Regions from separate parts of the Homo sapiens genome. Here regions 1 and 2 are each linked to region 3. The links are contacts of gene promoters, found by promoter capture Hi-C in human tissues and cell types (Jung and others, 2019). All regions are on one chromosome and are shown on one strand. The core of a region is centred on a gene start or on the middle of the fragment in contact, and the rest is flanking DNA. Distances in the headings are between cores, read along the strand shown.

What was found. Contacts are between HindIII fragments. The study calls those that stand out against the background at their distance.
Region 1: a contact is called between the fragment with the promoter of TXN here and a fragment that was not itself captured in region 3, in 1 of the 25 tissues and cell types used here (dorsolateral prefrontal cortex).
Region 2: the fragment with the promoter of BSPRY here is called in contact with a fragment that was not itself captured in region 3 in 1 of the 25 tissues and cell types used here (spleen).

Annotation. Positions count from the first base shown.
Region 1 is chr9:110,254,764-110,259,514 of GRCh38, forward strand. It overlaps TXN (thioredoxin), which reads right to left and starts at 1,744. Exons shown (of 5, transcript NM_003329.4): 1 at 1,649-1,744. The coding sequence starts at 1,672. RefSeq lists enhancers at 936-1,265, 2,008-3,207, 2,136-2,335, 2,376-2,425 and silencers at 1,336-1,585, 1,756-1,995. The HindIII fragment of the contact is 8,171 bases long and covers 1-4,621 here.
Region 2 is chr9:113,346,652-113,350,790 of GRCh38, forward strand. BSPRY (B-box and SPRY domain containing) reads left to right here and starts at 2,890. Exons shown (of 6, transcript NM_017688.3): 1 at 2,890-3,129. The coding sequence starts at 2,929. RefSeq lists silencers at 2,858-2,927, 2,958-3,237. The HindIII fragment of the contact is 5,403 bases long and covers 673-4,139 here.
Region 3 is chr9:111,614,265-111,618,698 of GRCh38, forward strand. No RefSeq gene overlaps it. Among named protein-coding and RNA genes, the nearest start is that of DNAJC25, 15 kb to the right of the region's middle. RefSeq lists an enhancer at 2,507-3,240. The HindIII fragment of the contact is 3,634 bases long and covers 1-3,422 here.

The DNA of each region.
Region 1 (4,751 bases), core at 494-2,993, 1.4 Mb before region 3:
TTTGTAGTGTCTGGATTTTGGGACAACTAACATAGACCACTCAAAGGTCTTCTGGCTCAGTGGAGGGGGTTCTTAGCAGTTGGGTTATACTGAGGTTGCCAGACCCTGGAGAACAGAATCCCAGCCCCACTCCCTTCCCCAGGAATGGATTAATAATTTGTCACACAATAGGTGCTTGGAAAAAAAGTATATGAAAGACAATTCACTACTAAGGATCTTTTCAACACATGAGGGCTGCTAAAATGAGAATCCCACTAAGAAAAAACTGATTGAGAGGAAGATAAAAGATGACAGTGGCAATCAACATATGAGGAAAAAACACTGAGAGTCAATAATAATCAAAGGAACAAAAGGATCGGGGACACATTGCAGACACACTTCTGTTTCCGAAGCCCACCCGGCACCAAACAGGTCAGGGCACCCGAGGCGGGCGAGGACCCGCCCTCCTCTGCTTCCCGCAGGTAGGGAGGGGTAATCGCAGGGTAGGCGCTGGCGAGGGGTCTTCTACCGTTCGAGCAGTATCAATTTCCTCCACTCACTTTTCTGACGCTGCATTTAACAAATATTTCTGGAGTGGCTACATTGGACTAGACACTGCGCGTTAGGCTCTGGGTTTCCCAGTCTACAAGGTTTTAGGCTTGCAATAACTTTCAAACATGGGAAGGCTGTTTCGCCTTGGGCATTTTTAAGAGGACAAAACAACGATCGGGATACCGATAGGTCGGCGAGCAGGCAGCAGGGCGCGGCTGCTCCCAGGAGGAACCCTGGCTCCAGCAAAACCCACCGACTGAGGGTGAATCATGGACGGGCAGGGCAGCCGAGGCCCCCGGGCCCAACCTTGGGGACTCAGTCATTCCAAAGCCACTGCTGCCGGAAACGCGCCCTGCGCCACAGGAGTCCCGTGGGCGCGGCCCGGACCTCACTTCCTCGCGGTCACCTGGGGCCCTCGGGCCTCCTGGACAGACCTGCACGTGCCAGGGGGTCTCCAGCCGCAATCCGCCCCCTTAGTGCGGATACAGCACGCGTCACCTTTGGGGTCGGGCATGGGTGGAGGCAGGCGGGGGTCTCCGGCCTAGACCCGCTCCCAAAGGGAGATCACTACCCCCGCTGCGGGTGGATCACTTCACATACGGAAAGGCAGCGGCGGCCACCGACCCGTGCCTTCTGCAAGGGCCCTCCCTATCCTTGCCTGGGGCCTGAATCTGGATACAGATGGGGGGCCAAGGGCGGACCCCTTCCATTCCCTCATCTTCCTCCAGTCGGGGCTGCCCGGACGGGAGGGTGCAGGAGGCGCAGCGTGGGGACTCCTCACGCTGTCTGCGCTCTCACATCCCCCGGACGCTCCCCGCGTGCGTGCAATCCCCCGAGGAACAGGGTGCGAGAAACGCTGGGCACCGCCACTCCGCCCTCCAGGGGACCCTCGTCCTTCTCCTCCCTTCCTCCAGGGCAGGCTCCACCGCCTCGGGCGCGCCCAGGCCGCTGCTTCCCGCAGTCCCAGGCCGAGACGCCGCGTCCCTTTCCCCTGGCGATGCGGAGGGGCGGCCTCCGCACCTCCCGCCACCGCCTTCCCCACCTCCCGCCACCGCCTTCCCCAGTTACAGAGGCCGCGCGCGGCGCCGGCACCCTGGCCTTCCCCGGTAGCGCGTACCTTGCTCTCGATCTGCTTCACCATCTTGGCTGCTGGAGTCTGACGAGCGGCTGTAAGGACCGATGGAAATGGATCCAAAGCACCAAACAGAGCTTCAAGACTCGCTGCTTGCTCTCTCCCTTTATAAACTGGCACGCCCGGCGTGCGTGTGGCGGGGGCGCGCGCGCCCGGCCGGACCTCCGCGCCCGTCGCTGCGCCCCGGCCACGCCCCGCCCCTGGAGCCTGCGAGCCGGGATCGGGGCGGGGCTGGCGCAAGCGTGGGGCGGAGCTCCAGGGCTTCGGCTCCTGTAACCCCAAGCCCAGCTCGCACTCCAGCTGGAAGTGGGGATCAGCACTGCGCGTGACGGTGGGAGGCGGGGAGACGGACAGTCACCCCCAGAGACACAAGGTCCCTCCCGGGTCACCTGGGGATGCGTCCGCCGGGCCTGAATCGAACACGCCCACGCTCGAGATGGGGACCGCCCAGGCAGGGCTGGATTCCTCGAAAAGGGCCGCCACGCCCCGGCCCCCCCAGCCACGTGAACCCCACAAAGTGCTGAGTAACGGTGACCGGGAAGTATCTCGGTGTGTACGTCCTTGCCTCCTCTCCGGAATTTACCGTGACCGTTCTCTTCTCTGTAACCTCCTTCTGTTCTTTCATTTTCACTGCTGAGCCCGCTGCTCCAGCTTGACACAGCGGTTTAGTGCGGTAGAAACGACCGGGGGACTGGTTGGGCTCTTGACCATCAGACAGCTGCGTGTGAGATGGAAGTGCCACTGGGTTGAGCTCTGCAACTTAGTTACGCAGTTGTGACCCTGGAAAGGTCCTGACCTCCTGAAGTCTCAGTGTTTCCTTCTGTAGAACGGGAATCATGATGGTCTCAATCTCACGGTGGTGGTATTTTGAGGGTTAATAGTGCTTGCAAAGGACGGTGCTTGGCACATAGTAAACACTCCATAGATAGTTCTTACTGTTCGGTGTCTTGCAGGGACTGATTGGGCCTGGCCACCTTATACAGCATTTACAATGGCACAGCACGCACACTTGTGTGAGATTCTTCTAACAGAGGCAGACTCCTGGAACAGAAGTCGGAGTTTGCATTGATCCAGGAATGCCTGTTGCAGGTTATGTCTGGCAGGGCTGGGGATTGTGGAAGGTGGGTATGTTAGCTGGCCTTGTGGAGCCAGGAGGGCCTGTCAGCGGCTGGAAGTGGAGGTTGAAAAGCTGCTCACAGGAACGAGAGCTAGAAGGCTGGGAGGGAGAGTCCCAGGTCTGTGTTTTCAGAGCTGAGCTGTTCCCGATGAAGCTGCAACTAGGTGTGATTGCCTAGGGGTGGTGATACTGCTGCCTGGCTGCCCCCTGAAATCCCTGGCTTCCTTCTTTCACTCTTTCAGACAGAGGAAGGGAGGAAACCAGAGGTTTTGAATCTATTGTGCAAAGTTTCTAGGGGGCTGAGGAGCACGGAGCATGAATATGGATATAGGCAAGGGACACATTCTAAAGACAGCCCATAGGGAGGGAAGACAGACTGCCCTGAATGCAGCAATGTTCCCAAAGAGAGGGAGGTTATTGGGGCAGAGAGGAAGGAGCTGTATGGAGCACCCAGAGCAGAATCTATAACCTGCTTTTCTGCTGCTGGGTTTTCAGTTCAGCTGCATCCCAGCTTCCTGACTTTTATCTGTTTGTTGGTGAATTTGCATGGGTGATAACAACAAATCATTGAGTTCCAGGAAGGGGCAATGCAGGCCATCCTCAGCTGACTTCTCTCCAAAGACCTTCCAAATGTCCAGTGACTCAGTGAAGGAGGTACTCCCTCTCTCCCACCTCCACAGCACCAATGCAGAGTAGATGTGGAGGATGGTACAGTTATAAGGAACTGGGAGGCCAGTCTGGACTCTGCAATTTGACTCCGTTGTCCTCATCCCTACTCTACCACTTCATGACTGGGTAACTCTAGGCAAGTCTAAATAGCCTTTTTGTGCCTCAGTTTCCTTATGTGAGAAGTGGGCGTAATAATAGCTTGTGCTATTATAAGGGTTGAGTGAACTAAAATATATGTAAAATGCTTAGAACCGTGCCTGGTGTGTAGTGAATGCTACATGAACTATGATTATAGGCTATTAAATGAATGATGAGATCCATCTGGAATGATGGCAGAGCTAGGGTGGAAGGAGAGATTATAAAACAGGTGTCAGTCTTAAATGAATTAAGTAATGAAGACAGTAGTAATGAACAGTGAGCTCCGTAACATAAGCCTCAAAGGAAAAGGCCTTTTTTTTCCCTGCAAGGAAGAAAGAAAAGTGGGCTGCACCTGGTCCCAAGGAGCAGGTTCCCTGCATTTGTGGCAAGGAGGTGACGTTCTTTGAGGAGAGTGAGGTACAGGGGAATTATTTGGGACTGCCCAGAGAGGAAGCGTTCATTTGTGCAGAGAAATGTAGAGGCTCTGTGTGTTAGTCAGAATTTTCAGTTGCAAGGAGAAATTCTAGCTCAAACTGACGTAAAGCAAAAAGAGAATTAGTAACTCAGATTAGCAAGAACCCCAGGGGCCTAATGATGTCAAAGGGCACCATCTCTCTTAGTTTCATTCTCAAGTAGGCACTCTATGTAAGAGTGGAGTAGGCAGCTCCAGACTTAGGTTCTTACTAGTTTAGTATCTCTACAGGAAGAGTGTTCCTCTTCCTTGTTCTTATAAATGTCTGAGAGGCTGACCTTCACTTTCATGGTGGGGAAAGGGATTAGCCTTGCTTGAAGCTTTGCACTAAGAGTAGGGAAAATCCAGGGGGTTACCAGAAAAGGGGAGATTGCTGCCGGACCAGCAAAAATGATATTTTTATGTCACCCAGAAGGGCGGAAACATGTAACAAGGGTGATGGGCCTGCTTCAGGCCTGGGTCAGCTGAGTCCAGCCTCCACATGGGACTGGAGAACTGGGTCAGCTGTCTTTGTTTGGGTCTCAACTCGAATTTGAAGAAAATGTAATTGTAGGATTTCTGAAACAAGTTTTTCTCACATCCCACGTGTCTCTGAGTGGTTCTTGACCACCTAATTCATCATAGCCAAAGGTGCTCGATGATACTGCACATTCCTGGACCACACCCAGACAGACATACAGAATCAGTCTTTT
Region 2 (4,139 bases), core at 1,640-4,139, 1.7 Mb after region 3:
GATGTGTCCTGCAGGGCTTGATGAACAGATAGGGAAAGGGCGATTCTCCAGTTCCAGTCCAACTTGGCTCATAAGTGGTGAAACAGAGGAACCCGACTTGATAAAAGTAAATCTACTCCTACCTTAGCCCTTTGCATTTGCTGATGCCACTACCTGAAAGTAATTCTGGTGATTTAGGGGCTGTTTTCCAGATCCTGGACCTGGTAGGGCCAATGACTGCTCTAGGGCCACACCCAGTGAAGGCCCCCCTCCCCCCCCCCCACCTTTCCCTAAGGATTTTAACCCTTGTTCCTCCCCCTGCCCTCCACAACCTCTTTTCTTTCTTTTCTTTTCTTTTCTTTCTTTCTTTCTTTTTTTTTTTTTTTGAAACAGAGTGTTGCTCTGTTGTCCAGGCTGGAGTGCAGTGGCGCGATCTCAGCTCACTGCAACCTCCACCTCCTGGGTTCAAGCGATTCTCATGCCTCAGCCTCCCCAGCAGCTAGGATTACAGGTGTGCACCACCATGCCCGGCTAATTTTTGTGCTTTTAGTAGAGACGGGGTTTCACCATGATGGCCAGACTGGTCTCGAACTCCTCAAGTGATCCGCCTGCCTCAGCCTTCCAAAGTGCTGGGATTACAGGCATGAGCCACTGCTCCTGGCCACACAACCTCTTTTCTTTTTAGCCTTCACACAAAAAGCACCTCCTATTTTCTTTGTTTTCACCATAGGGTTTAATAATTCCCCATCCCCAGTCCTTAGAAGGAAAAAATTCTAACCACAATCTCTAATTACCATGGCCTATTTCCCTCCCCACCCCCAGAGGAGTGTAGATGCTGTTATGAGGCCATCACCCTCCCACTGGGATGCACTGGAAACTTCTTTAGATGCCAGGAAAGCAGCACCCCTGTCGCCAAAGAACCTCACACAATTTACATTCTGAAACCTGCTACAACTGTATTTACAGATCCTCACACATATAATAAAACCTTTTATTATCCCCTACTGTATATCAGACACCCAAAGTAAATACTTTGTAGACAAGATCTCATTTCATTCTTGAAGTAGCCCTCTAAGGTAGATGATAGTATTATTATCACCTCTGTTGTAGAGATAAGAAAACAGACACAGAAGCTGTGAGTAACCTGACCAAGATCCCATAGCTGTAAGCTGCATAGCTGGGATGAAACCAATGACTATATTTCACTCAGTGTTCTCTCTAATCATATGGTGTAATATTGTCTATCTGGGGTGACAATGTGTCCCCATTGGATGATGACACCACTGTGTACCGCTCTGGGTAGCTCTGGGGCTGTTAGCTGCCCTTACCCCTCAGGTGCTAAAGCAGTAGTGGCTGAGAAGGAAAGGGTTCTATCTCCTTTGTGTGGCCATTGCTTAGAGAAGCTTCAGAGTAGAGGTGCTAGAGCCCCTGTGAGCTATGGGATGTAATGTTTCTCTTTCGGTTTAGCTCCCGCCTGTGTTCAGTTCTGATGCACTCAGAGTACTCTCTGACACCTGAAGGCCTGGGCCCTTCCCCTTTTGAGAGAGTGCCCAGCTTTCTGCCAAGACTCCTAAGAAAGAATTTGGGGTTGGTGGCCGGGCGCGGTGGCTCACACCTGTAATCCCAGCACTTTGGGAGGCTGAAGGGGGGAGATGGCTTGAGCCCAGGAGTTTGAGATCAGCCTGGGCAACATGGCAAAACCCTGTCTCTACGAAAAATACAAAACTTAGCTGGGCACGGTGGCATGTGCCTGTAGTCCCAGCTACTCAGGAGGCTGAGGTGGGAGGATCACTTGAGCTGGGGAGGTCGAGGCTGCAGTGAGCTATGATTACACCACTGCACTCCAGCCAGGGTGACACAGTGAGACCCTATCTCAAAAAAATAAAAAAAAATAAAAAAAAAAAAGAAGAAGAAGAATTTAGAGCTGGAGAGCAGCGTTCTCCTTGTATGCCCAGACAGACTAGACTGGATCCCCAGCAGAGGGCTCAATCTGGGCTCAGACTAATATATAAGATCCTGAGGGTGGGAAAAGCCCTAAACAGCTCAGGAACATGTTAGCAGTTTTTCTTTCTGGGGTGGGAGTGGGTGGATTTTTCTTCCACATGCTTATTTGCATATTTTGTTTTCTTCGAAATAAAAAGGCATTACTTTTTTTCAATGCTAGTTTAAAAAGAAAACTCAAATATTCAAATTCAAAAAGTTTGGATGTAAATACTTTGGGAAAATCAGCCTAATACAGATATTTCTCACTGGGCCTCAATGTTCAATTTAAAAAATTATTAATTATAGTAACCTTAAGTCACACTGCCTAGGTTCCAATCTCATAGCTACCAATTAGTAACTGTGACCCTTGGCAAGCCACTTAACTTCCATAAAAATGGGATCCTAATAGTACTTTCCTCGCACTGTTAGTAGACACTTAGCGATTGCAGCTGCTATGTTCCAGATATTGTTTTACGTATTTAGCGTATTTACTCCTCAGACGTCTGGGAGGCAGGTACTCTCACCCCATTTTACAGCTGGAGTTCCCACCCAGTGAGCAGCCAAACGGGATTTGAACCAGGCAGTTTCTCAGCAGAGCCTTGCTTGAAGCTAGGCATCTAAAGCTGCCTCTCAAAAAGGGCAGTGGTCGGGATTACATAACAGAACGCTTGCAAAGCTCTCAGCGAAAGCCTGGCACTTAATAAGTGCTCAATAAAGTTTCCTACGGTCACAGTAATATTTGGAGTTTTATGTTTGTTGTAGAACAAATACGCATACAATCGCGATTTCATTCAACAAGGAATTTAAAGAGACCTGCTGCCCCGGGCGGGATGGGAGCGCGGGTTGGGTGGGAGGAGGCGCAGCTGCGGGGCGCGCTGGCGCACCGGGAGGGCCGGGGGCGGGGTCAGCCAGGCCCCGCCCGCCGCCACCTGCGACAGGTGGAGCGCACGGGGCGGGCGCACGGCCATGTCCGCCGAGGGCGCGGAGCCGGGGCCGGGGTCCGGGTCCGGGCCCGGGCCGGGGCCACTCTGCCCCGAACACGGCCAGGCTCTGAGCTGGTTCTGCGGCTCCGAGCGACGGCCCGTGTGCGCCGCCTGCGCGGGGTTGGGCGGTCGCTGCCGGGGGCACCGCATCCGCCGGGCGGAGGAGCGCGCCGAGGAGCTGCGGGTGAGCGGGTGTGGGCGCCGGAAGGCGAGGGCTCCGGAGACCCCGGGCGCGCCTGGCGGGACCCGGCAGGGACTGGGGAGCCTGGGGCTGGGCGGACTCGACACCCGGCCCCGGAGCCTAGGCTCCTCGGTGGCTTTGGCTGTAGGACTAGGCGGTTAAGGGTGTGGCCTCTGAAGTCAGGCTGGCCTGAGTTCGAATCTACTCCCTGTGAGTCACGTAACTCTGAGCCTCAGTGTCTTCATCTGTAGTTTGGGGACAACAACAATAATAATAGCGCGTATTTATTAGAGTTGTGAGAAATAAATAAGATAGTGGGTAAAATGCTTAGCGATAAGGGGATCCAGGCTCCCCAGGCCCCTTCCATTGCTCTGTTGAGGAAGCTGGGGCTGGCATGAAAGGCTCAGCTGCTCCAGTTCTCAGCGCAGGGTGTGCCCCAGCTCCCGCCCCTGTGGAAACTGACACTGATAAAATCCAGCGCGACCGTATCCCTTAACCCCTGGACTCAAAGCCCCCCTCCTCCTTTCGCCTCTTCCCCCTGCTCCTAACCCCTTCTGGCTTCTGGTGCGGTGATCTCTTTTTCGCTTTCAGGATTGGCCTTGACTGTACTTCAGGCTGGTTTAAGGGCTTCAGCTGGATAAACGGTGGGGGTAGGGAGAATATCAGGGGATTCCCCTTCACCCAGGCTTTCTCGCCACCTCCACTTCCAGCTCGGCTCCAGGGTGGCCACCTCCTTGTCATCACCATTCTCCTGAGCTGCTGAGATTGGGAGAGTCGAAGTCACCTTGGGCTTCTCTGTGGCCCCTGGGGATTTCCTTGCAATTTGATTAAACAGCTTGTTTCTCCCAACCCGACTCTGCAGTTCACCCCTGCTGTGAAGCCTGAGGGCTCTGGCTGGGGACTTCGCCTACCCAGAGTGACCTGTAATAAACACATCTTATATAGGGTGCTGGGCTCGGGAGGGGTTCAGTTTTTCAGCAACACCCAAAAGCTCCTGGTTCGTCCTACCTGTT
Region 3 (4,434 bases), core at 356-2,855:
TCTGCCTCCCAGGTTCAAATAATTCTCCAGCCTCAGCCTCCTGAGTAGCTGGGACCACAGGTGCGCACCACCAAGCTCAGCTAATTTTTGTATTTTTAGTAGAGATGTGGTCTTGCCATGTTGCCCAGGCTGGTCTTGAACTCCTGAGCTCAAAGTGATCCACCTGCCTCTGCCTTCCAAAGGGCTGGGATTACAGGTGTGAGCCACTACACCCAGCCTAACAATAATAATTGTGTTTTTTTGTTTTTTGTTTTTTGAGATGGAGTCTTACTCTGCTGCCCAGGCTGGAGTACAGTGGCGCGATCTTGGCTCACCACAAGCTCCACCTACCGGATTCATGCCATTCTCCTGCCTCAGCCTCTCGAGTAGCTGGGACTACAGGTGCCCACCACCTTGCCCGGCTAATTTTTTTGTATTTTTGGTAGAGACGGGGTTTCACCGTATTAGCCAGGATGGTCTCGATCTCCCGACCTCATGATCCACCTGCCTCGGCCTCCCAAAGTGCTGGGATTACAGGCATGAGACACCGCACCCGGCCAATAATTTTTAAATATTTATATGAGAGGCAGAGAAATTTTGTAGGAAAGGAATGCTTTGTATGGAAGAGAGTTAAGATGCACAAAGACAGTAAGTGGTTCAAGATCAAGGGGAAAAGTGAGTGCTCAGCTCAGTGTTGGTTACTTGTATCTTACTTCAGCCCAGACTCTTGGGCTCATGCCCAAGTTCCAGCTCAGGGGGACACCAACAAAGAAAAAAGTAAGAACTTAAACAAGTGGCTTCATTAAACTCTCTGTGACATACTGAGTAGCTTTGTTACATAGATGGGAGATGGCACCAGTGACTTCGACCCTATCGGAGACATTGGGATTCGTCAATCTAATTACTCATGTGGAGGGTGCCCAAGGATACCTTATGTTTGGAGAGTCACTGGAAGGGCTCACGGGACCCAGACTATAGTTGTATTCATGGCTAAGGTTTATTACGGCAATGTAATGAGGAGGGAGAAAGACTCAGGTGGAGCCTGGGGAAATCCATGGGCAGGCATCCTACTGCCCCCTCCCTCCACGAGGAATTGCACAGTGCACTCTTCCTTCAGCAATGAAAATATATTTCCCCAGCAGTAAGCATTCAATGTTTCTGCTTATTAGAGGGAAACCCATTAGAGTCTCAACATCCAAAGTTTTACTAGGGTCTAGTCACATAAGGCACCCTCTGCCTAGCGTGTACCAAAATTCCAGACCCCCCAAAGGAAGGCAGGTGTTCAGCATAAACCACACTGTTTGTATAGTCTAGGCAGAATGGGCCACCCTTGTCAGTTAGGGAATGGTGGGGACACGCTTCAAATCCAAGTTCCCAGACACCAGCCCAAGGCCAACATCGCAATCAGGCTTGCTATGTTAACTCTTCTGTACATCAGTAAAACCTCTAGCAATAGTGAAGTCATTAAGAGAAATTTCGTCCTGGAAATTTTCCACCAGAATTTCTAATGTTGTATGGTGTATGCACAGAAGTTAGGATTAAATATGTTAAAGCTTGGCAGCTCTTCTAACTGGTCTATATTCAAGAAATATATTCAAGGCAGGGCAAAAGAAAAAGAATATAGCCAATTGCAAATGAGGAGGTAATTGGTTCTTTGACCATTTGTCCCTGAAGCACAGCTGCAGATTAACACTTCCTTGTGGGTCGTTCTCATCTCAGGAGGACAGCTGATGTACATAGACACACAGGGAGGTGGGCACTGAGGGTGGGCTGTAAACCTGGCACAACCTAGCTATGATATCCACTGTGACATCTAACCTGCTAGTAGAATCATGCCAAGGAATGGAAGTAATGCAAGCTGACAGAGGTTTGGGCCCAGGAATTTCCTCCCACAGTAGAGGAATGTGGTAGAGACATACGTAGTCACAGAACCAGAGCTGTGGACCAAAAGAAGGTTCGAAGATGAATATTTCTGGCAGAAAGCTAACAGTAACTATTTTGAATTTACCAGGCACCTCCCTAAGGAAAATTGCTTTCAGAAAACACTGGAGCAAGAGAATACATGGAAGATAGTTTATACTCCTGCATCCTCCAACCTAGAATTCTAAAAGAAAAAAAAAGAGTACCTAAAAAAAGAAAGAAGCTGAGGACCTAGGACAAATTGAACAGAGCAATGCAGCCTGGGCTGCAAATAGCCGGATACTAAAACTAGGATTTTTGCAGAGCTATCTCGGGGGTAGAAGAACCTGAACTACAGGTTAAATGTGCCAGGTGATGTTCCGGAATAGAAAGTCAAGGAGAATGAGAGTCAGATTATGCAGTGTTTGGGGTGAGACTGTATGAAATGAGTGCCAGAAGCTATAACACTTGTGTGCTTAAATGCCAATTTTGGAGTAAGATTTTGTCAGGGTAGAATCTGCTGTGGAAGCATGAGCTGAGCTTCCCACCTTTCCCATCCAACAATGAATTAATCCAGTGAGACACTACCTTTTCTCCATCAATCTGTATCCTTGATCCTGAATATGAGGACAATGGTAAAATTGCACAATGTGAGTTACAATTCTCTTGTGCTCTTTGGATGATGTTTTTCTTTTTATTTATTTATTTATTTATTTATTTATTTTATTGATCATTCTTGGGTGTTTCTCGGAGAGGGGGATTTGGCAGGGTCATAGGACAATAGTGGAGGGAAGGTCAGCAGATAAACAAGTGAACAAAGGTCTCTGGTTTTCCTAGGCAGAGGACCCTGCGGCCTTCCGCAGTGTTTGTGTCTCTGGGTACTTGAGACTAGGGAGTGGTGATGACTCTTAACGAGCATGCTGCCTTCAAGCATCTGTTTAACAAAGCACATCTTGCACCGCCCTTAATCCATTTAACCCTGAGTGGACACAGCACATGTTTCAGAGAGCACATGGTTGGGGGTAAGGTCATAGATCAACAGCATCCCAAGGCAGAAGAATTTTTCTTAGTACAGAACAAAGTGAAGTCTCCCATGTCTACTTCTTTCTACACAGACACAGCAACAATCTGATTTCTCTATCTTTTCCCCACCTTTCCCCCTTTTCTATTCCGCAAAACCGCCATCGTCATCATGGCCCGTTCTCAATGAGCTGTTGGGTACACCTCCCAGACAGGGTGGTGGCCGGGCAGAGGGGCTCCTCACTTCCCAGAAGGGGCAGCCGGGCAGAGGCGCCCCCCACCTCCCGGACGGGTCAGCTGGCCAGGTGGGGGCTGACCCCCCACCTCCCTCCCGGGCGGGGTGGCTGCCGGGCGGAGACGCTCCTGGCTTCCCAGACGGGGTGGCAGCCGGGCGGAGGGGCTCCTCACTTCTCAGACGGGGCGGCTGCCGGGCGGAGGGGCTTCTCACATCCCAGACGGGGTCGAGGCCGGGCAGAGGCGCTCCCCACATCTCAGACGATGGGCGGCCGGGCAGAGACGCTCCTCACTTCCTAGATAGGATGGCGGCCGGGAAGAGGCGCTCCTCACTTCCCAGACTGGGCAGCCGGGCAGAGGGGCTCCTCGCATCCCAGACGATGGGCGGCCAGGCAGAGACGCTCCTCACTTCCCAGACGGGGTGGCGGCCGGGCAGAGGCTGCAATCTCGGCACTTTGGGAGGCCAAGGCAGGCGGCTGGGAGGTGGAGGTTGTAGGGAGCCGAGATCATGCCACTGCACTCCAGCCTGGGCAACATTGAGCACTGAGTGAACGAGACTCTGTCTGCAATCCCGGCACCTCGGGGGGCTGAGGCTGGCGGATCACTCGCGGTTAGGAGCTGGAGACCAGCGCGGTTAGGAGCTGGAGACCAGCCCGGCCAACACAGCGAAACCCCGTCTCCACCAAAAAAATACGAAAACCAGTCAGGCGTGGAGGCGCGCGCCTGCAATCGCAGGCACTCGGCAGGCTGAGGCAGGAGAATCAGGCAGGGAGGTTGCAGTGAGCAGAGATGGTGGCAGCACAGTCCAGCTTTGGCTCGGCATCAGAGGGAGACCGTGGGGAGAGGGAGAGGAGAGGGAGGGGGAGGGGGAGGGAGAGGGAGAGGGAGAGGGAGAGGGGATGTTTTCAACTTTAGTTTTTTTTTTGTTTTTTTTTTTGTAGAGTTTCAGAGAGAAAGAGGCGTTTGTATTGATTCAAGAGGATTGAATCAGATGGATTTTCCATTTAGAAAGCAAAAGGTAAGAAAAAAAATAGAAACAATACCTTTGTGCCAAGAGAAGAGCAAATGGGAAAGTTAGATATAGAATTGTTATCAGTATGTCTTCTTTTTCAGTACAAAATACCTTGAAAACTTAGTTAATCTTGTACATTCAACAGACTATGTTCTGGAATGTTCTATTCACATGTTTCAGGAAGACTAACCTTTCTCTTTCTATTCTGTAGAAAATCAAGACTTCAGCATTGTGTTTAAAATGATGAAGGCAGCCGGGGGCGGTGGCTCATACCTGTAATCCCAGCACTT